Linked DNA regions of Homo sapiens: all the other regions are linked to region 2. The links are contacts of gene promoters, found by promoter capture Hi-C in blood cells and fetal thymus (Javierre and others, 2016). All regions are on one chromosome and are shown on one strand. The core of a region is centred on a gene start or on the middle of the fragment in contact, and the rest is flanking DNA. Distances in the headings are between cores, read along the strand shown.

Region 1 (3,747 bases), core at 50-2,549, 590 kb after region 2:
AGATAGGAGAGAGTTTAATGCTCAAGAAATTGAATATTTTCAACAAAGATGCCGAAAACACACCATAAGGAAAGGACAGTCTCTTCAATAAATGGTGCAGAGAAACGTGGATATCCACGTGCAGAAGAATAAAATTAGACTCTTAACTCACACTATCTACAAAAATCAACTGAAAATGAATGAAAGACTTAAATGTAAGACCTGAAGGTGTAAACTGCTAGAAGGCAACAGAGAAAAAGCTCCATGATCTTGGTCTGGGGGATGATTTTTTTGGATTTCACCCCAAAAGCCCAGGCAATAAAAGCAAAATTAGACAAAGGGGATTGCATCAAACTAAAAAGCTTCTGCTCAACACAGTGAAGATACAACCAACAAAATACAAAAGTATATTTGCAAATCATACATCTGATAAGGGGTTAATATTCACAATATATAAGAAATATATCTTACAACTCAATAGTAAAAAAAAACCCAATTAAAAATGGGCAAAGGACCTGAATAGACATTTCTCAAAAGAAGACATGCAAAGGGCCAACAAGTATGTGAAAATATGTTCAACATCACTAATCATCAGGGAAATGCAAATTAAAACCACAAAGGTATGTTATTTCACACCTGTTATAATGGCTGCTGTCAAAAAGACAAAAGATAACAAGTGTTGGTGATGATGTAGAGAAAAGGAACCTCTTGTACACTGTTGGTGAGAATGTAAATTAGTACAACTATTATGGAAAATGATATGGAGATTCCCCAAAAAATTAAGAATAGAACTACCATATGATCCAGCAATCTCACTTCTGGGTATATATTCAAAGGATATTAAATCAATGTCTTGAAGTACTATCAGCACTCCCGTGTTTATCACAGCACTATTCACAATAGCCAAGATATGGAATCAACCTAAGTGTCCATCAACAGATGAACGGATAAAGAAAATGTGGTATATGTACACAGTGGAATAATAGCCTTAAAAAACAAAGAAATTCTGTCATTTGTGACAACATGGATGAATCTGGTGGACATTAAAAAGTGAAATAAACCAGGCATAAAAAGACAAAAATACTGCATGATCTTACTTATATGTGGAATCTTAAAAAGTCACTCTCATGGAAACAGAGAGAAAATTGTGGTTATCAGAGGCCATAAGGTGGGGGACTGGGGAGATGCTGGTCAAAGAACACAAAATTTCAGTTAGGGGGAATAAGTTCAAGAGATATATTGTACATCATGATGACTGTAGTTAACAGCAATATGCAGTGTACTTGAAAATTGCTAGTACAGTAGAGTTTAAGTGCTCTCACCAAACAAAAAAGATAAGTATGTGAGGTATCATGCGTATGATAAATGGCTGATTTAATCTTTCCACAATGTGTGCATGGGTGTGTATATACATACATATAAATATACATATACACCCACACACACATATCACATTGTATGCCATAAAAATGTACAATTTTTACTTCTTAGTTTTTTTTAAGAAAAGCCATAAGTAAGAAAGTCACATGAAAGAAACATAAATGATCAATAAATATATAGGGAAAAAAAGACCAGTGTTGCTATGTGGCATGAAATAGAGTTGAATAACTCAGTAATCTTATATACAGACTCAAAAACACTTGTTTACAGTGGTTTCTAAATAATTTTCTCAGCCCTAAAAATTATATATAGGCTTTTATCACACTTTTCCTAATTTCTCAACTATTAACATCTTAGTTTAGCTAATATTTAGAAATTTTTAGATTGCCATGTGAACAGTGATTCTGGTAAAGAAAATAGTCATTTAGGGAAAACCTCATTTTAGTCTGTACACAAAATAAAGCTCAGCCAGACCCTTTTCCAACACCCCTTGTTTCTCATTAGTTTTCCAACTGAAGACATTGTTAATTCAAATAGTCAATTAGCCAGATCCTCTAATGACTCCCCTTCCATTAAGATCTGCCTGACTGCGTTATATCACCAGTGAATGGCCAGCCCCAGAATGTCACTGAAGAGTCCCATGGAATTCAGTATTTTAAAATCAGTGGCATTGGACAAGGACTCAGAGGACTTGACTTCCCTCAGTCTTTCTTTAAAGAAGGCCTTTGGCTTGGGCCTCAGTCCCTTCACTTCATCTTTCTGTAGAAGGGGCAGAGCTAGAAAACTATAGGGTCCACCCCAGCTCTGATAGTTTTTGAAGCTGGGTGGTAACCATCAACCTTACTAGACAATATCTGGTCTCCTTAAAATAAAATATCTCATTCTAGACCACTCTGACTCAAGCTTTTAGAATAAGCCTCTCTCTATCCTGTTCACTGTTGGCATTATTTCCTCACCATTCTTGGTTCTTTACTGGGAAACAGCAAAGAGGACTTTGGCCCTCAGGAGACACAACACTCACTCGGTCTAGTTTGAGGGAGTGTGTCACTCATGAACATCAGTTACTTGACGTGATGGTTAATTTTACGTGTCAACTTGCCTAGGCCATTGTACTCAGACATTTGGTCAAACACAAGTCTAAATGCTTTTCGTTAAGCTACTTTTAGATGAGATTTAAGTCAATTACACATTTAAATCAGTAAACTTTGAGTAAGGCCGATTACCTTCTATAACATGAATGGGCCTCATCTGATCAGTTGATGGCCTTAAGAATAAACAGACAGAGATCCCAAAGGAAGAGGGAATTCTGCCCCAACCACCCTCGGACTTGAGCTGCAACATCAGCTTTTCCCTCGGTCACCAGCTGGCTGGCCTACCCTGCAGATTTTGGATTTCCCAGCCTCCACAATTGTGTGAGTCAATTCTTTAGGAAGTTAAATTTTAAAACTCCTTTATGAACCATTTTGTAGGTATTCAAATCAATACCATTAGATCAATATGGATAAGACATATCTTCTCCCCCTCATGCCACACTCTGGTCACTAGCACCAGTCAGTAATCCTTCTGAGCCACAGACTTCCATTTGTAACATGAGCATATAAAGTAGCTATTCTGCTGACTTTAGGATATTGGCACTAGGAGCATGGAAAAAAAATGTGGAAGTACTGTATAAATGGTATGATTAAGCAACAGCAATAAGGTATGCCTGATTATTATATTTACTATAAATTGTAAACATATATAATTAGGAAATTTTCCCCCACAAAAAAATGTATCCTATTTATCAGACTGAGTTAAATCATACTCATTTCTAACTGGAGTCAGTGTCTCTTCAGCTTAGTGATCAATGTAGAGAATCCTGTAGTGTGCATAGAGAGGAAGGAGAGAAAATAGTAAACACTGATTTTTCTTAAATAAAATGAAAGCCAGAATTCACATTAACAAAATGAGAGTGGTAAACACCGTAAATACATGCTCATCCCCCTCATTTAGGTCTTTTGAAAAACATGTTATATAAGCTGCCTCAACCCCTGCTGGGAATTTTGTGAACAAACAATGAAAAAGAAGGAAAGAAAATGAAAGGGAGAAATTGAAAGAAATTATGCAGAGAGGGCAGGAAGGGGTTCCCTAAAGAGTGACACATGCAACTCCTGATAGAACTTATGCGAAAATGAAAACAAAAAGGTGGGTTTCTATAGTCAACTAAGTTTGAGAAATGCAAGTTAAACAAGTTTCTTTAGGACAGGTGTTCTTAGAAACTTTTAAGATATTAATATACGTGGTGAAGTAAAAGATGCAACCGTTTGCATTTTCTGAGATTTTCTCATTCTCTTTTCCTGTTATCTCAAAATTCTTTGATAATAGTTTCTCCCTCCACTGCAGGATCAT
Region 2 (3,760 bases), core at 852-3,351:
AAAACCTGTAAGAAATTTGTTCTTAAGTTCCAATGTATAATCTCTTGAAGAGCTTCCTTCTTTATGGGCTCACCTTACAGATGCGCTGTGAGTTAAAAGAAAAGGCCAGGCTTGGGAAGCAGAGAGACCTGTTTCAAATCTGTCTTAGGACTCACTGGCTGTGCCAGCTTAGGCCAGAATCAACAGGCTCTGGTCTCAGTCCCTGTAGTGGCACACTGGGGAAACAGATGACATCGTAAGATGAGCACAGGCCCTGGCCCTGGGTAGCTGCCTTGACCCTATCTCTGCTGCCACCATCCTACCATCCTGGTCCAAGCTACCATCTCTTATCTGGATTGTGGCAATTATGGGGTGTTTTTCTTTTCTTTTCCTTTTCTTTTTTGAGACAAAGTCTGGCTCTGTTGCCCAGGCTGGAATGCAGTGGCACAATTTTGGCTCACTGCAACCTCCGCCTCCTGGGTTCAAGCGATTCTCCTGCCTCAGCCTCCCAAGCAGCTGGGATTACAGGTGCCCGCCACCACACCCAGCTAATTTTTTTGTGTTTTTAGTAGAGACGGGTTTCACCAAGTTGGCCAGGCTGGTCTCAAACTCCCGACCTCAGGTGATCCGCCTGCCTCAGCCTCCCAAAGTGCTGGGGTTACAGGTGTGAGCCACCCATTTATTCTGTGCCACTTCAATCTACCAGTCTCTTCCCTGATAGCAAAAAGAATCGAGTCACCACCTTTAAAAGATGAAAATCCTCAACATGATTTACAATATTTTTTCCAAACTGCAGGTCATGAGCCATTAGTGGCTCATAGAAACAATTTAGTGGGTCAACACCAGCACTTTTTTAAAAAAGTGAAGTAGAACAGAAATATGAAATTGCAATGCCAATCATAAGCATAAGAATTATTTCATCAAACTTTTCTCATTATGGGCCTTCTCAAAAAGTGTTTGAAGGCCTCTGGCCTATAATAACCTGAGTAATATGACCCCTGCCTCCTCCTTTAGCCCCACTTCCCATCATCCCCCACGCGGTTCTCCGCGCTTTACCCACACTAGCCTTCCTTAAATTCCTCCAATACATCATGTTCCCTTCTGTGGGAGACCACTTAGCACATGGTTTTCCTCCTTGCCTAGTTAATGTCATCCTCCAGGTCTCAGCTCAGATGCCACTTCTTCAGGCAAACCTTCCCGGATTACATCCTGAACCCCTGTAGCTGTCAGGGTCTCACAGATCTGTGTTCAGTTTTTAGTTATCCCTTTAATAGCATGTTTCCTCGGTTAATGACAAACTTTCCCACTAGGCTGTCTTTGTGACCGCAGGAGCCCTGCTCTTGTTTACCCCTGTGGTAATCCAGTGCCTATCTCAGGCTGGCACCTAGGCATTCAGAGGGATAAATGAAGGAAAGAATTGGCCAACCTGTTGACCAATGACGTTGGCTGGCCTCCTTCCTTGCTTGGTATCGGTTTTGTTTCTAACACTTGCACCAAGAAAACCACACAGGGTTATACTGTCTGCCTAGTTTAGGAACTTCCTTTAACAGTATTTCTTTACTCTCTGAGTTTCTGGTGAGCTAAAAAAACATAACAAAAAACAAAAAACTCCATCAAAATTGTATGCGTGTGCTGGTCGTTGAGTACTTCGGTGGAGAGTGGGAGACGCATCTTCATGAAATTTCAGAGGGGAACTCTGCCCATCCACTCCGAACCAGCCGCAGCTCCACGAGCATCTCACGCCACCCCTCTGCATCACCAGGGCGGCCGTGGGGCGCGCGCGATCAGCAGGCTTCTTGGCGCCCAGTCCATGCGACTATCTCTTCCCAGCCCCGGGACTAGGCCCGCCCCACTCGGATTCTCCACTCTTGGTAGCGCGCGTCCCCCGGACTGCTGAGACCAGGCGGCGCGGAGGCAGGTGACCCGCGTCTCCAGTCCCGGGCGCAGCCCAGGGTACGTTGTCAGCATCGCGGAGCGCGGCCCTGGGCCTCTGCAGCCATCTTCAGGGAGGGAGGCGCGGCCTCCCGACGCGGACCCGCCCCCGCCGCCCGGGCCGCCCCGCCCGGCTCCGCAGAGCGCCGCGCCTAGGTTGCGACTTCCCTTCCCTACCCTGCTCGGCTGCGTAGTGCGCTCCCCGCCCAGCCTGCAGAGCTCGCGCCGCGGCAGCCCAGCCGCTCGGCCCCGCCGCGCTCGCAGAGGCCGCCATGGGCACCGCGCGCTGGCTCGCGCTGGGCAGCCTCTTCGCCCTGGCTGGGCTGCTGGAAGGCCGGCTCGTGGGCGAGGAGGAAGCCGGCTTTGGCGAATGTGACAAGTTCTTCTACGCCGGGACCCCGCCTGCGGGGCTGGCGGCCGATTCCCACGTGAAGATCTGTCAGCGCGCGGAGGGTGCTGAGCGCTTCGCCACCCTCTACAGCACCCGGGACCGCATCCCCGTGTACTCCGCGTTCCGCGCCCCGCGCCCTGCGCCCGGCGGCGCCGAGCAGCGATGGCTGGTGGAGCCGCAGGTAAGCGAAGTGGTTCCCGAGCCGGGCTGCGGGCGCCGGAGACCGTGCCGCTGGACATGCCCCCAGTTGCAGCTACCGCGAGGGGCGGGCCGGGAACAGCAATCCCTACGCCTTCGGTGCCTTGGGCCAAGAAACCCGGGTTCCAGGTCCACCCTGTTGCGTCCCCGGAGTTAGCCTGCCTCGCCCCTGTCGAGCTACAATAAGAGCCTGGCGATCTGCGAGCCTTCACTTCATGAGCTGCAGGGCGGGAGGTCCCCTGTGGGAGGAGGTTCTCCCTGCATTTCTGAGCAGACATCCGCAGTGTTTCATTCCTGAATGGTGAAGAGCTTGATACAGAGACCCTGGAGACCGTTCAGATCCGCAGAAAGCCTAGGCTGGGCGCTCACAGGCCTTCGTGCAACTTATTGCCATAGCACTCATTTGGAGGTGGGTAGGTGGGCATTTTCATCCCCATTTTACAGAAGAGGAGATAAACCCAGGGGGTGAAGAGACATATGGAAGACTACCCAGTTAGTAAGATGGGGCAGGTCTCTGTCTAGAAATTCACTGCCTTTTCTACTAAGTAAAGCTTCTCTTCTGCAGAGCTCATCCTAGCCTGAAAATCCTTCCTCTACCACGGCGTTGAGTAAATTCGATCTGCGGTTGTGTTGAATTAGAACAATGAAATAAAGATACAGATTTTTAGAAACGCAATGGGGTAGTTAAAAATGATAGGGAAACATTGACTACCTCCAACTGATGGAAAGATAAGCCAGTTTTTCCTGACTCCTCATATCTATATTATCATACCACTAGGAAATCGTGTCACCTCTCATGGTGTTCTGTCCCGTCTGGTAAAGGTGACCAAACACTTGAGAAGCCCTCAGAGTCTTCCGAACCTGCTGGCCTGCTCTTAATACCTCTCCTCAGTTGGCCTCCTCTCTAGAACACCCTGCCAGACTCCCCTTTGCCCTCTCACCAGCCTCCCACCCCTGCCCAGGCTGCTGGGGGAAGAACTGACCCAACGCTCTCCCTTTCCTGACGGCCACAGCTGCCCAGGACCACACCAGTGGACAGGAGGCTGGCTTTCAGGTGCTTTATTCAGAGCCTGTGGGTTGTAATCTCATTCAGATATTTCTAGCTCTGAGGTCTTGGCCAGGTCTCAAACAATCTGCACCTAGTTTTCTTATCTTCCTCACATCCTTCCACCTACCTCAACTGTTGATAACACTTGTCGAGATCAGGCATGTGAAAAAGACGTTGTCAGTTGCACACACAAGACACATTTAAATCCAAAA
Region 3 (3,554 bases), core at 680-3,179, 740 kb after region 2:
ACATTAAATATGTGAAATATATTTATGTTGCTAATCATTTTATATCAGCCAACAATGTAGTACTACCAGATGCAGTGGTGACATCACACTCAAGGGTTTTCAACCAGAGAGAAACATGATTCATATATTTAAGAGATTACTGTAGTGACTAGGGGTAGGGTAATGGGATCAAGGCAGAGAGGCTGAGAGATCAGCTATAGATGTATCAGAGGTGGTCAGCAAGACAGTAGTTGGGTTTGGGCAGAGGTAAACAGATTTGAGGTATGTTTTGGAAGTAAAAAAAATATTGGGGTTACTTGCTGCTGGGTATCATGTAGAAGGAGAGGGAGTTAGGATGGTGATTCCACTGACTAAAATGGAGAAAGCTGAGAAGTTCAGAGAGCAGAACAGTTTTGTTGACTGTTGATTGGTAGCCATATGATAGACACACAGTGCCAAGTGCTCTGAGTATATCTTCTCATTTAATTTTCACAAAAGGCTTCTGAGGTGGGTATATTCTCATATTATAGATGAGGTAGATGCTAAGCCACATTTTCTGGGAAGTATGCATATATCCTCAGTGAAATTAAATAACTTGCCCAAGTACCAGCTTACTGGGAAATGGCAGAGCTGGGATGAAACTAGCCTTTTCAACTCTAAAACTTTGGCTGTTTTTTCAAAGTTCATGTATGAAAAAGAAATACAAGCAAATTATTCCTGTAGGAGTAAGGAGTAATGGTCTAATTTGTTGCTTATACTAATTAGACTTATTCTATTGGAACACCAACATGCCAGCATCAGTTTGGCTAAAGTAAAAATAAAGCTCCCGTATTTAAAATTATTCTAAAAATAATGGAACAAAAATAAAATTCTTTTCATAGTATTAATACATTACCAATTACATCTGTTCATCCATCTGGAAATTGCTTCTTTGCCTCCTCAGACTAGTTTCTAGAATATCTTTCTCCTCTTCTCCCATTTGTGAAAATCCTTCCCATTCTTCTTTTCTCTGTGTCTGATTTTTTGCCTCCTTCATGAGTCTTTCCTTCAACTCCCCTTGTTTCTCACTCGCCCTGTTCTGTACTTTGGCAATATTGCCTTAATTTAGGACAACCAGAATTTGTTTACTCATGTCTACTTGTTTGTGTATTGTTTTATATATATATAAGCATATATTTATTTATATTAATATTTAAGTGTTAAATGACTAGTGCAGTAGATTTTGAAGTCTTTAAAAGAAAGCCTAGAATGTATTATTTTTCAGTTAGCATGAGAGTTAACCAAAAAAAGGTACTCTTGTACTTTTTGTTGTCAGAAAAAAAATATTTTCATTAAATTCTCCTTTTCCTTCCTGCCTTGGTTATTTGGTATAGCTGGAGAAACAGAAGTTAGAGAAGCAGAAGAAGGAATTAAAAGCTACCAAAAAGACTCTTGATGAAGAAAGAAACAGCAGCAGCCGTTCTGGAATCACAGGGACCACAAATAAGAAAGATTTTATGAAACTGAGACCTGGAGAAAAAAGGAGAAAAAATCTTCAGTTATTGAAGGACATGCAAAGCATACAGAATTCATTACAAAGCAGTAGTTTGTGTTGGGATTACTGACTCATAACCAGGTCAGAAATTTTATTCAGATAATCTGTACCTCATCAATCAGATGATGACAATTTACTTCCCAGGTCTCATACTCACTTATGTTGGAATTAATTAATAGCAGGTGTTAAAGGACCCAGGCTTCATTACACAGGCTTTTCATGTATGCAGGATGACTCAATGTTAAAGCATTTAAATGGAAACCAGGGGAGTTTTAAAGCCCGAGAAACCACACATAATCTTTTGTTGAGATGAGTTTGCTGTACTGACGCTGCACTTTGTAAACAGATTACCAGTTTTTTACTTGTGGGTGTGATTTTTTAAAATAGTTCTTTATATATAATTAAAATTAGGTTTAAATTTTCAAAATATGAGACTATGCTATAGGCAGTGCTTGCTTGAAAAGTCTCATTTTTAAATCTCCCTGGCATGAGGTGCCCACTTCCCCTTTCCAAAGCAACCATTAAACATACTTTGTTTCTACTATTGGTGGAGTTTTTCTATATTTAAAAATACATATATATTTCAGAGGATTTTTATTTTGCTTTTTGGCATTTCAGACTTTGATCAGTGTTAAGTGCACTTGTATTGCTTTTTAATCTGTTAATTTTTTAAAGACCCAAGCAGTCATTTTGAGTTATATCTATAAAAATTATAAAAGGATTTTTGAAAGTATAAACAAATTGTCAGTGAAATAAATGAGATTTTGGAATAAAGTGAGAATGGGAGAAGGGATATGTTGTGAGCATATACCTTCACAGTTCTTAATACCTGTTTTGTAATCATGATATTCAGTCAAGGCATTATGGTTTTTAATCTTGAAACTTAGAGAACCCTTTGAATATTTGCTTTTACTGGTGTACAGTATGAGTGGAATATAAACTGTACACATAATTATCATGTTGATATAAATCATAATTTCAACTAGATCAAGACATGTTAACCTTTTATAAATTTAAAGTCAATAAAGCACCTTTTTAAAGGAAACACTGCAACTTTCCTTAACAGCCTGTTAATAAAGGCTTTGTGACAAGCTCTCAAAAAATGCATTTCTAAATAGGAGGACATCAATGTATTGATGAAGAGAAAAAACTAGTACTTAGTTGCCACACTCATGCTTACATAGAAAGAGAGCCCAAGAATATTAGATTTCCTCATGATACAAGATACTACAGTAACAGGCTTTAATTTAGGATCCTTAAGATTTTGGGGTATTATTTGTGACTCTCCTGAAATTGTAAACTTGTGCTTCTGTGTCCAGTTTTCTAATGAGTAGGTTCGTAGCTTGATTGAATTAATAATTGTGAGCCCATAGACACAAGGGAAGTGAGAAACAGTGCTCTGGTGACATGATAAATATATGTGTCAACCACCATTTCAGCTATTAAAAACTCCTGTTATCTCCTTGTTTGAATTTCAGGTCATTAAATTGTATAACCATCATTTGAATTGTAGTGGCTCTGAGTCCTAATTAGGAGAATGGTGATTGAATGATGCTAAATCCCACCCCTTTTCTCAGCTAGGATTCAAACTGAACTACTCCAGCTTTTTGTACTGTCAGGTGAGAAGTGAAAAAATACTGCTTCCATTTTCTTATCTGCAAGTTTACAGTAGAGGAATGTGTCATCCATCCACTTACGTTGTAACAGAGCTTTATTGCAATTCATTTCAAATAAGGTTATGTTTACAGACTTGTGGTAGACATGTGAATTGTTCATTCCAATATAATGTGAATTGCAGTGGTAGTAGCGGTATACACAGTGCTATGGGGGCACAGAGGAAGGTGGGGATGTCAGAGAAGGCAGTCGTGAATCAGATAACTTCCCAAAGGAAGAGATGATGCCTAAACTCTAGAAAATAGGAATTAGTCACAAGGGAGAACAGTTGTTCCAGGTGCACAAGACAGACTGAACCAAAGTGGGGAGGCAGGAATCTGCAGATTACATGAGGCAATTGTGAACAGCAGAGTAGCATTGGTACGTA
Region 4 (3,967 bases), core at 714-3,213, 650 kb after region 2:
TTAGTTAATTGAACATGCAAAGTGGAACCCACAGGCAATGATCTCAGTATATATTTTGACTCATCATCCAAAGAAATCAGAGATGAAAGCAACATCTAATGGCTGAGAATACATAAATAGCCATTTCCACTCACTTTCAATTACCCTGCAGAGGAATCTGGTCACAGATGAGCTCAGTAAATTCACAATATGTTATCCTCAATAGCTAAGCTGAGCAAAATCACCCAATTTGTTAGAACATTAATCCTCTAAAAGCCTGCCAACCCTAATCATTTTATGGCTTCACATTGCTTAATGGTAAAGATAAGAGGATCCCCAGGGATGCCCAGGTGTGACCTTCAGTGAGTCAAGTGCAGACAGTCTCCTGAGAATGTAGATGGATATTGTATGGCCTAAATATCCAGCCTATAGCTAGTGTGGTCAGTGTTCTAACTCTCCTCTGCACTATGTGCCTTTCACAGTCATCCTGGAGGAATTTCCAGTCCTTTGAAACTGGGGATTACAATGTATTTATTTCTGAATCCCCAATGATTGGCATAATATCAGATACCTGGAAGTCACACATTTAACAAATATTTGTTAAATGAAAAATCAAATAAGTGATAGTAGGCAGTTACCTTCAGCAAATACACTCACCATACATATGTACATACATAAAGGATGGGGTTCTTTTTTATATTTCTCAATCTGAACTGGGAGGTGAAGTCTCTCTTTGCTTGATTCTACCTGTGAGGGGAATCGTTCTGAAGTGCTGATACCTTAAGAGCACAACTGGCAGAATTGTGGAAAGCACCATAATCTACAGGTTTAAATCTTAGGTCTGTCTCTTAGTAGCTGTGTGACTTTGGGCAAGCTAGTTATTCTTTCTGTGTCTCAATGACCAAACTGTCAGATAGGAGTGATAATCAAGGTTGTCATGAGATAGGAATAAATTATATGCAGCTATGCATCACATAACAATGCTTCTGCCAACAACAGACTGCATATGCAATTATGGTCCCACAAGATTATAATGGAGCTGCCCTATACAGATATACCATTATTTTATCTCTTGCGCTGTATTTTTACTGTATTTTTTCTATGTTTAGGTATGTCTAGATACACAAATACTTACCATTATGTTACAATTGCCTACAGCATTCAGTTTAGCAGCATGCTGTACAGGTTTGTAGCCAAGCAGCAACAATAGGCTGGACCACCATATAGCCTAGATGTGCAGTAGGCTATTACTATCTAGGTTTGTGTAAGTACACTCTATGATATTCACATAATGATAAATGTGCCTAATAATCCATTTCTCAAAGGACATTTTCATCATTAAATGATGCATAACTATATATATAAAATATATATGTGTGTGCACACACACAAATATCTGTATGCAGCATGTGTCTTTATATATGACATATACTATATATATATATATATATATATATATATATATATGAAAGAAATGTGTAGTACACAATGAACACAATATAAGCCTGGGCTATTACTGTTGAAAGGTTGGGAGTAGAACACTAAGGAGTTTATGCACCCTTGCTCCCATGAAAATTGTTCTTTCTTTCTTTCTTTCTTTTTTTTTTTTTTTTTTTTTTGAGACAGAGCTTCGCCTTTGTTGCCCACGCTGGAGTGCAATGGCATGATCTCGGCTCACTGCAACCTCTGCCTCCCAGGTTCAAGCGATTCTCCTGCCTCAGCCTCCCAAGTAGCTGGGACTACAGGCATGCACCACCACACCCGGCTAACTTTTGTGTTTTTAGTAGAGATGGGGTTTCACCATGTTGCTCAGGCTGGTCTCGAACTCGCGACCTCAGGTGACCTGCCTGCCTCGGCCTCCCAAAGTACTGGGATTACAGGCATGAGCCACTGCACCCAGCCTAAATTGTTCTTTCTTAATGCTTTGTTCCCTTTTGGTATCTCTTAAAACTCACTTCTCACAATGTAAATGCAGCATGAGGAGCTAAAATCCTGACAAGGGATAGCATATATTTGTCTGGCCTTTCCCTCTACTCAGATTTCTCTGGGACCTATAGAAGTGTTGTCTGGTCAAGAATATTAGTTACCATATGACAGACTTTTGCACTTTTGCCTTCCCTTTTCTTCATCCTGGGGATATCTCATCACATCACCCACTGCTCAAAGGGCATGATAAATTCTAGCCAGGCAAAGCCCCCATCGCTGTACCAAAGGAGCTATATTCTCCTCCTAACCTAAATAGTGAATCAGTGTAACATAAACTTATATGACTAGTAAAATGGTTGCTGCTAGCTGACCAGCGGTCCTGTCAGGGAGTCATGCATTGTCGTGGTCTTTCAAATCAACTTAAGGTATGAATTATACACAATAAAGTGCACCTATTTCTTATATTTATATGTGAATGAGATTTGACAAATGTATAACCTCTATAACTACCACAGTCATCAATACATTTCCATCATCCCAAAAAGTTCCCTTGTCCCCTTGGTAGCAAATTATCGCCACCCTAGTCCCCAAGCAACCACTTATCTGTCACTTTAGTTGAGTTTTTGTCTTTGCTAAAATTTCGTACGTTTGCTTTTGTGTATTTTCTTTCATTCAGTTTATTTTTGAGTCATTTATGTGTTACATGTTTAAGTACTTTGCTCTTTTTTATTGCTAAGTAGTAATCCAGTGTGTGAATATACTATAATTTGTTTATTTATCAACCTAGTCATAGACATTTGAGTTGTTTGCTTTTTTTTTTTTTTTTTTGGCTGTTATGAATAAAGCTGCTATGAACATTCATGTAAAATTTTTTATGTGGACATATGCTCTCTTTCTCCTGTGTAGATTCCTAAACAGCATTGCTGGTCCTATGATAATTGTATTTTAACTTTATAAGAATATGCCAGACTGTTTTCCAAAGTGTTCTATCATTTTATATTCTCATAACTAATTTATGAGTTACAGTAGCTCCACATTTTGTAAATACTTCGTATTGTCAATCTCTTTAATTTTAGTAATTCTAGTGAATCCGTGATTGTATCTCATTGTGGTTTTTTTTTTTTTTTTTTTTTTGAGACGGAGTCTTGCTCTGTCGCCCAGGCTGGAGTGCAGTGGCGCGATCTTGGCTCACTGCAAGCTCCGCCTCCTGAATTCACGCCGTTCTCCCACCTCAGCCTCCCGAGTAGCTGGGACTACAGGCGCCCGCTACCATGCCCAGCTAATTTTTTTGTATTTTTAGTAGAGACGGGGTTTCACCGTGTTAGCCAGTATGTTCTCGATCTCCTGACCTCGTGATCCGCCCGCCTCGGCCTCCCAAAGTGCTGGGATTACAGGCGTGAGCCACCGCGCCAGGCCCTCATTGTGTTTTAATTTGCACTCCCTGATGATTAGTGATGTTCAGCATCTTTTCATGTGCTTATTGGCCATTTGCATATCTTCTTTCATGGTGAATCTGTTGAAATCTTTTGCCCATTTTCTACTTGGGATTTTTTTATCTTCTCATTGAATCCTAAGGTTCTTTTATGTTTATATACAAATCCTTTGTCAGATATACTTTGAAAATATTTTCTCCCAGTTTGTATTTGCCTTTCCATTCTCTTAATGGTCTTATGAGCAGAATATTTTAATTATGATAACGTTCTATTTTTCCATTTTTTCTTCATATTCCATGCTTTCTCTGTGCCTAAAACATCCATGCCAACGCAAAGTCACAAATATTTTCTGATATTTTTCTTCAAAAAATGTCATAAGTTTAGCATTATGTTTAGGCCTATAAGCCATGTCAAATTACTATGTAAAAAGAGTATGAAGTAAGGTGTGTGTGGTGTTCATTTTTTTTAATGGATAACCCAGTTGTTCTAGCATCATTTGTGGAAAATACTGCGTGAAAGGCAATTCTACACAAAAGCACACACACACCATCTTCTGTTCATTGATTTATTTGTCTATCCTTACATGAATATTACATTGTGTTTATTATTTTAGCTTTTATAAATTTTAA
Region 5 (3,912 bases), core at 580-3,079, 610 kb after region 2:
ACTGGAGGGTTTTGCAGCAGCAGAAATTGCCACAAAACTCCAGGCACATTGAGACAGAACCCACAAGCATTTTTTCCATGCTAGTGCCCTGCTTTCCTAGGCTATCCAAGCTGGCCTTGGAGTGGTAGAACAACAAAGGGAAGTGTCCACAGAGACAGGCCTGCTATGGGACAACTGACTCCCATGGTGCTCATATGATGTGGAAGGAGTCCAGAAGCTCCTGAATGCCTCCGGGAATGTGGACCATGAGTGCTGGCTGGTGAACTTACTCAAGGCAACGATGGGCCAAGCTGGGGATGGAATGGAGTCACTGGGAATCTGAAGCACCGCGAGAGCCAGCGTGGGGCCTGATCAACAAGAGGTGATGGCCAAACACTTTGGATACTGTTTCAGAGCAACACGCAAACCATGTTTTCCTCTGCCCTCATACCACAACAACAATCATCAACACAGAAGAAGACTTCTGTGACCAAAGTGTGGGGGTTTTTCCCCGGGTATCCTCCAATCAGTTCTAACATTATGTACCCAGAAACAGCAACAGATATCACATATGGAGGGCTCAGTCCTACAAGTCTGCCCCCTTCTCCCACCAGCCTCAAGTCCAGGCCTCCAGAACTCCTGACCGATCAGCTTCAAGTTGGGGTTCCCATGACCCTATCTTTGGGTTTGATTTATTTATTAGAGCAGCTCATAGAACTTACAGAAACATATTTACTGGTATGTTATGAAGGATATTTTAAAGAATACAAATAAACAGCCAAATGAAGAGATACATAGGGAAGGTCTGGAAGCATGGACAACTGTGTCACAATGTGACTGTACAGAAAGGATATGACCTGAATAAACCCAGCAAGGCCTGCCTGCTCAGGGTTTTCTGGATCTCTCTGTGCAGCATTCCTTCCTGCGGAGTATGGGGTAGAACCCACTCTGGAATGAGGTTCTCATGACCCACAATCAGATGAGAGTCCTGCCTTGGGCAGGTGAAAAGAAGGCAGGAGAAGGTCAGAGAGAGAGATTCCATTTTCTGAGGCCTGTTCCTAAGGCCTAAAGTACCCCAACATTGTGACAAAAGAATATAACAAAGATTATGAGGTTTCTGAGCTAGGAACTGTATATGAAAACCTGTGTGTGTGTGTGTGTGTGTGTGTGTGTGTGTGTGTGTGTGTGTGTGTGTGTGTGTAATCATATCACAAGAGCCATCATCATGCCTCACCCATCCTGGAAGAATACAACCTGAGTGGAGTTACAACAGCCATACGCTGCTCAGTAGCAGCTTTAATGTAAATAGAGGCTGACTCCCAAAGACCAGGTGGGATGAGCTTAACTAGAGCCCCAGAAGCAAGCAAAGAAGGACAGCACATAAATTGCCCACCTCTCCCCTGCTTCCTGGATACCATTAATTCACGCAAACCTTCCCTTGCTTCCAGACTCTATCTACTCCCTAGAGAGGGCAGTTAGAACATTTGAAGTGTCAGATTATTTATCCAAAACACACAGAGTTACCTTAAAATCCAGAGCCACATAAAATCAGCCACCCAAAATTTGAAAAGTACATACTCTGGCCCATCTGCATCGTAGGTTATCAAATTTGACTCCTCTGTACTACAACTGAGTATGCACACTGCTATAGGAACTAAGAAGGTCATTTTTTTTCAGACGATGGAGTTAGAAAAGGCTTCCCACAGGAGTAACATTGGAGGTGAACTTTGAAGGGCAAGCAAGAATTATCCAGCTATGAAGAAACAGAAGTGTATTTCAAGAAATGCAAAAAACATGAGTCAAGGGACTCTGGTAAACTTAAGTACAGCTTGTTCAGGGAAAGCAAAGTTGTCCGAGAGAAGGATTGAGCTTCCATGCAAAAAGAAATCAGGTTGAACAGGAAGGCTGCAGGGCCTGCCTATGGCCGTGAGGGTTACTCCTAGGACCTCTGAGTGGTTGGAGGCTGAAAAACAGCCTTTGCCCTGCTCTCTAAGGGCCCTGTGTACTCTACAGCAGGACAGGGTACACCCTAAGGATGAGACCACCTTTTAGAATGCAAAAAGGCTTGATTCTTTAGCTGAGCCTTAAATCGCAAGGCTTCCTATGCCCAGAGGGGGTGACTTCTCAATTTTGCACAAAGTCATCGTGTAAATTAGCAGGGATTCTTTAAATATGGTCAGATTATAGAAGGCCATGCAAATTTCTTTAAAGGATTTGGGTTTTAAGTAAGAACAGTGAGGAGCCACTGCAGGGTTCTGGGCAGGGGTATGACATGGCAAAAGAAATTATTCCAGCAGCAGCTGTCTGCAAGGCAGATTGGAGCCGAGAGACTCGGGAAGTTACCACAGTTGTCCAGGCATGAAGCAAAAAGGGAAATTTTACGGTATCCATGGCAACTGAAGGGGAAAAATATGAAAATTATTTTGAAGGCAGAAACAACGAACTTGATTACTGATTGGGTATGAGTGCGTGGAAGAGGCAGCAGTAATAAATGACTCAGGGGTTTTGAGCTTAGGAAGCTATGAGAATAAACCTGAAATGGGGACGCTAATCAGGAGAGCTGCTTTGAGGGAGAAAAGAGAGTTTGGTTTAAGACATGTTGAATTTCACATAATGATGAAATGTAGAAGTGGAAATGCTCTCTATACATGTAAAAGGACAAGACTAGGTCATTCTTCCTTTTCTTCATTATTTTTTTCTCTCTCCATGATTTTTGCATACATCTTAGGATCTTTCTCTGAGGGATGTTTGGGAATAAATTTACCACTTCCCTTACTTTTAGTAAACTGTGAAAAAGATCATCATTATCATCATCAACCTTGTCTTCAAGTTAACACAAAGTATTAGTCAACACCTAGTTGTGTTTCACTTTTATGATTCCATGCCCTTGAGAGATTTCCACTCTCTGAAACAGCCAATATTTGCAGGATCAATATGTAGAGAACAGAAAGAGTAGAATAATAATCATCGAATAATACCTACATAAGATTAAAAGTAGTATTCACACTCTACAGGAAGAAACAAAGAAAGAGGAAGGATACTATGCTAGGTTAAGACCTGTGGTCGGGATGCTGGTGATTGGAGATAAAAAGAAAATTAGCAAGAATTTCTTTTTTGGACAGGGCTAATTTAAGTCTTCTCCTTAGGAAGGAAAATGGATTTGGGATACTCCTTACATAATAATTATTATTTTCATTCATCTAGGACTTAACATTTTATACCCATTGTCTTATCTTCTCCATGGATTGCAAACCTTGTGCAAGACCATGTAGCTATTCTGCAGGAAAGCTGGGCCACAAACTGAAATTTCCAGCACGCCAGATTGAGTCATTTGAAGACGAGAAAAAACACAGTGTTTCATGAGGAAATTCAGCTACTTCTTAAAAGATCAGCATGTAAGAATCCAAAAATATTGTTGTTGAGGGCAGCTTCTTCAGCAAGCTCTCCTTCCCTGCCTTTTACAAACAGAAGTCCTTCTGTATGAAAGATCACAAGGGTAGGCTGCTCATCTCTGCCCATTTGAACAGCACATCCCTTTACTCATGCATTTCTGTTTGCCTCAGCCATGATGTTCCTGGATTTCACAAAGAGGGAGTTGTTTCTTGCACAGAGCAGTTCTGTGAGTCAGTGTGAAAAGAACTACCTGCCATATCACCTCCCACTATCTTAGAGAGGAGAGTCAACTTTGATCAAAGAGAGAGAGGAAGAAATGGTATGTTTTCTCTCTCTTGATTTTCCACCTTATTAATTTCCATTATAGTTTAACACTGTGGGTCCAAATCTGGGCTTGCAGTGAGGCAATCTGGTTCATGTTTTTGTCCCATTGATGGACACATTGTTTGCTTTGCTGTTAAAGAGATTTAGTGAAGTCTTTATGGATGCTGAGAAGATTAAAAAGCTTGATTGCAAGATGGTGCCTTCTGGACACAGACA
Region 6 (3,787 bases), core at 1,252-3,751, 710 kb after region 2:
TGTTTTAAATATTCATTGTGCTCTTGTACTTTTATGAACACGGATTATTCTGGTAAATGTAAATCTTCAAAGGTAAGAATTGAAAAACATAGTTTGCTGTGGCCGTTTGAGGAAGGAAAGTGGATGAACATTTTGAATAGCTGGTAGTCATATCTTCCACCTTAGCCCTCAGCTTCTTAGTTACTTCCCCCAGTCTAGGACCATCTGTCAGTAGGAAGTCGCCTACAACAAATAAAACTCCACAGTTAGCATCTCCTGGGTTGAAATTATTATGTGGAATCCTAAATTTAACAGAATCTCATTCATGACAGAATGGTGTACTGTGGAAATAAAGTTTTATGTTTGAGTGTTTGATGGGCCTTAATGTTTTCTAATTATTTTCTTTTTTGTTAATTAAATGTAAAGTATTTGAGGCAAGGACAGTGCCTTATTTTCTTTCTGGAGTTTTGAATACTATAAATATTCAAGTAGTAGTTTGTGGATGGGGAATAGAGTAATTCAGTCATTTGTAGCAGTTTCTGGTCCTGTAAAAATAATGTTTTTATTTTTCTGAACGTATATTTCACAGTATATATTTTTAACTGCGGTATTTACATTCATTGTATCATTTAAGTATTTCTGCACAGCATTTGTATTCAAGTTGTATGAACATTATTTTCTTCTTGTGTCTGGCATATGGCTATATTCAGACTAATATGAAACACTTTAAAAGTTGTATTTCTTTAATGATTGAATTGTATTGTTTCTAGTCAGTGGATTTTTTCTGTTGTCTGTATGGACAGTCAATCTCAGTCATAAATATTTGTGATTTAAATCTGCTATTTGTGGTTCACACTTTTGAAAGGTAATTTGTGTCTTTATTTTTTAGAACAGCTTTGCTGAGCCATCAAGGTCTAATGGAAGCATGGTTCGGCATTCTTCATCTCCATATGTAGTATATCCTTCGGATAAGCCTTTCCTTAATAGTGATCTACGACGCTCCCCAAGTAAGCCTACACTTGCCTATCCAGAAAGCAACAGCAGAGGTAATCGAGCCTAACGAAATAAATGTTATTTGTGTTTTCTTGCTGCTTTAAAATTCTTAACTTTGTCCTCCATTATTTTGCCATTAGAGGAAAATATATTTCCCCTTTGCTTCCAGTTTCAGCCCCCAGAAAATATTATGCTTTTCTTGTATTCCTTATATTGATTGTTGAACATCATCATCCACCAAATTACTGATGCTAAAACACTTTGAGTCATCAGTGACTGCTCTGTAATCCCCACTATTAGTCCGGAATGAAGACCTTTTTTTGCTTCTGAAATATACCAAAAGCATACTGTTTTTTCTGCCTTTTTGTGTTCTCATTGCTTTGGTTCAGGCTTTCATCATCTGTAGCCCAGATGTTCATAGTACATTCCTCATTAATCTCCCTGCCTGTTTTCTCCTCCTCATCCCCAGTTAACAACATTTCTGTCATTTGTCATTATCCATCATCTCTCCCACAAAATTAAAGCTTTAGCATCTCTTCATAGCTTACATAATAAATTCTTAATTTTTCATAACCTAGACCCTATATGCCTCACCAGCTTCATCCCTAACTTGTCTTCTGTTTTTTCCTTTCCCATCCTTTGCTCTGGCTACTTTGAAATACATTTATTCCTGGAACCTGCCATCTGTATTAGTTTTCTTGTCGCCTTAACAAATTGCCATGAACTTAGCTTTAAATATTTGTTATCTCAGTTTTCTGTAGGTCGGAAATCTGTGTAGGCTTATCTGGGTCCTCTGTTTAGAGCCTTACAAGGCTGAAATCAAGGCTTTGCTTGGGGCTCTGTTCTTTACTAGAGGCTCTGGGGAAGATCTGCTTCCAAGCTCATTAAGATTCTTAGCCAAATTCAGTTCCTTGTCATTGCAGTACTGAGATTCTGTTGCTTTGCAGACTTTTACTTGAGGACAGTCTTTGCTCCTAGAAACTGTCCTCCTTCCTTCATGTTTCCCTTATTGTCTCCTACGGTAACAGTAGGTAGTCTCTCATGTTTCTTTTTTTTTTTTATTTTTTATTGTTTTTTTGGAGACAGAGTCTCACTCTGTCACCAGGCTGGAGTGCAGTGGCGGGATCCCGGCTCACTGCAACCTCCGCCTCCTGGATTCAAGCTATTGCTATTCTCTTGCCTCAGCCTCCTGAGTAGCTGGGACTACAGACGCGCCCAGCTAGTTTTTGTATTTTTAGTAGGGACGAGGTTTCACCATGTTGGCCCAGATGGTCTCAATCTCTGGACCTCGTGATCCACCCGCCTTGGCCTCCCAAAGTGCTGGGATTACAGGCATGAGCTACCGCGCCTGGCCAAGTCTCTTATGTTTCAAATCTCTCTGAGTTCTGTTGTTACATTTCTCTAACCACAGCGGGAGAAAATTTTCTGGTTATGTTATCAGATTGGGCCCACTCAGATAATGAAAAGATGGTTTTGATATTGAATTTGTTAATCGTCTTTTAGATGTTTCTTCATCTGTATCTTTTAAAATACACCTACCTCATACTTTGTGTGAAGTTTAAATGAAATATCTTTGCTTTATTTGGGATGCTGTGGCATTTCCTTTTTTTGAAAGTTGTGTTTAATCACTAATATTGCAACAATTCTATGTGTTAATGATTCTCTAGGTAAAAGAAATATTTTTGACATCGTAGGCTAAACAGGCATTTGTAAATTAGTTGAGGAACATTTTTTGTTTCAGTTGGGATATATATTGTAAGTATCCTAAAAATCTCAGAATGAACCTGTTTTGTAAACTGGACTGATTGTACAGTAAAATACCAAGTAGGTAATGATATCCAAATACCAGCTTAAATCCTAACCTATAATGGGTGCTGAAAAGTGTTTACTGAAATAAAAGTAACTAAATAGTGTGATGTCTTTTAAGAATTTTAGTACTCTGTAATCACTAACCTAGAAGCCTCTTTATTATAAGATACTGTGTCTCGATGATAACGAAAATTTTTAATTAATGGTTAAAGCAACTGATAAGGTTCTACACATCAGAGTATAGCAGGTTGGCAATTTAAGAAAATTAAGTTGCATGACATTCAAACAACATAGATTTTAAAAAGCAAAAAAAAAAAAAAAAAAATGACTGAAGCCCACAGTAGAGCAAAAATCAGTTGCAGTAAGTTTCTTATTCAAAAATAAGCACAAAACAAAATATCCATTTACAAAGTTCTAACAGGAACACAAAATCTAAGAATTAGATATTAATCCTTCAACTATAATATTGTATCTAGTTCTGATCTTTACACCCATGAAAGGAAACTTTTAAAAAGTTCAAAAAAATGACAAATTACTAGCAAAGAATAAGAAATATTAAGAAGGCAGATTTATTCACCGAGAATCAGAAAAATTTTAGCACAGCATGTTACTAATAGAGCTAAATTCTGCTTGAGTGCAACATCAGTGGTTTTAAGGAATAAAAGAGAAGTGAGACAAGCAGGGAGGAGACGGAGAGGAGAAATAAACAAGATAAAAAGTAACCTTTAAGCTTTTATGCCTTTAGAGCATGATGCGGTGAACTATTTAAGCAATGTCCCAGGATAATTATTATAATCCATTATCCTTTTATAGTGTTTTAATCCAACGATACTTACTTTCCAAATGGGAAGGAAAGACACAGAAATCACTATCCCCTTCTCACCCAGAAAAAAAATAAAGGCTGTGAGATATGAACAAAGACCAAGAGAGTTCAGAAAAGACATTTGTTGGGGATAGGGATAAGTGTGTTGGGGAGGTTAAAGGAGAGGAAAACCTCTCAGAGGAA

What was found. The method cuts DNA at HindIII sites, captures the fragments that hold promoters and counts their contacts. A CHiCAGO score of 5 or more calls a contact.
Region 1: a fragment that was not itself captured here is called in contact with the fragment with the promoter of ENDOD1 in region 2 in 1 of 17 cell types (neutrophils); the score reaches 6.6 in neutrophils.
Region 3: a fragment that was not itself captured here is called in contact with the fragment with the promoter of ENDOD1 in region 2 in 1 of 17 cell types (total CD8 T cells); the score reaches 5.6 in total CD8 T cells.
Region 4: a contact is called between a fragment that was not itself captured here and the fragment with the promoter of ENDOD1 in region 2, in 12 of 17 cell types (non-activated CD4 T cells, monocytes, total CD4 T cells and 9 more). The highest score is 9.0, in non-activated CD4 T cells.
Region 5: a contact is called between a fragment that was not itself captured here and the fragment with the promoter of ENDOD1 in region 2, in 7 of 17 cell types (monocytes, total CD8 T cells, neutrophils and 4 more). The highest score is 7.7, in monocytes.
Region 6: a fragment that was not itself captured here is called in contact with the fragment with the promoter of ENDOD1 in region 2 in 10 of 17 cell types (total CD8 T cells, naive CD8 T cells, non-activated CD4 T cells and 7 more); the score reaches 7.9 in total CD8 T cells.

Annotation. Positions count from the first base shown.
Region 1 is chr11:95,676,842-95,680,588 of GRCh38, forward strand. No RefSeq gene overlaps it. Among named protein-coding and RNA genes, the nearest start is that of FAM76B, 110 kb to the right of the region's middle. The HindIII fragment of the contact is 1,921 bases long and covers 340-2,260 here.
Region 2 is chr11:95,087,745-95,091,504 of GRCh38, forward strand. It overlaps ENDOD1 (endonuclease domain containing 1), which reads left to right and starts at 2,102. Exons shown (of 2, transcript NM_015036.3): 1 at 2,102-2,483. The coding sequence starts at 2,184. RefSeq lists enhancers at 1,504-1,783, 1,854-1,913 and a silencer at 1,924-2,353. The HindIII fragment of the contact is 8,670 bases long and covers 1-3,049 here.
Region 3 is chr11:95,829,674-95,833,227 of GRCh38, forward strand. It overlaps CEP57 (centrosomal protein 57), which reads left to right. Exons shown (of 11, transcript NM_014679.5): 11 at 1,353-3,020. The coding sequence ends at 1,583. MTMR2 (myotubularin related protein 2) reads right to left here. Exons shown (of 15, transcript NM_016156.6): 15 at 3,207-3,554. Among named protein-coding and RNA genes, the nearest start is that of CEP57, 41 kb to the left of the region's middle. The HindIII fragment of the contact is 4,048 bases long and covers 1-3,554 here.
Region 4 is chr11:95,739,421-95,743,387 of GRCh38, forward strand. No RefSeq gene overlaps it. Among named protein-coding and RNA genes, the nearest start is that of FAM76B, 48 kb to the right of the region's middle. The HindIII fragment of the contact is 8,213 bases long and covers 1-3,967 here.
Region 5 is chr11:95,695,849-95,699,760 of GRCh38, forward strand. It overlaps LOC107984377 (a long non-coding RNA gene), which reads left to right and starts at 3,509. Exons shown (of 2, transcript XR_001748337.2): 1 at 3,509-3,691. The HindIII fragment of the contact is 4,092 bases long and covers 1-3,875 here.
Region 6 is chr11:95,798,364-95,802,150 of GRCh38, forward strand. It overlaps CEP57 (centrosomal protein 57), which reads left to right. Exons shown (of 11, transcript NM_014679.5): 2 at 869-1,025. Among named protein-coding and RNA genes, the nearest start is that of CEP57, 9.8 kb to the left of the region's middle. The HindIII fragment of the contact is 2,015 bases long and covers 1,495-3,509 here.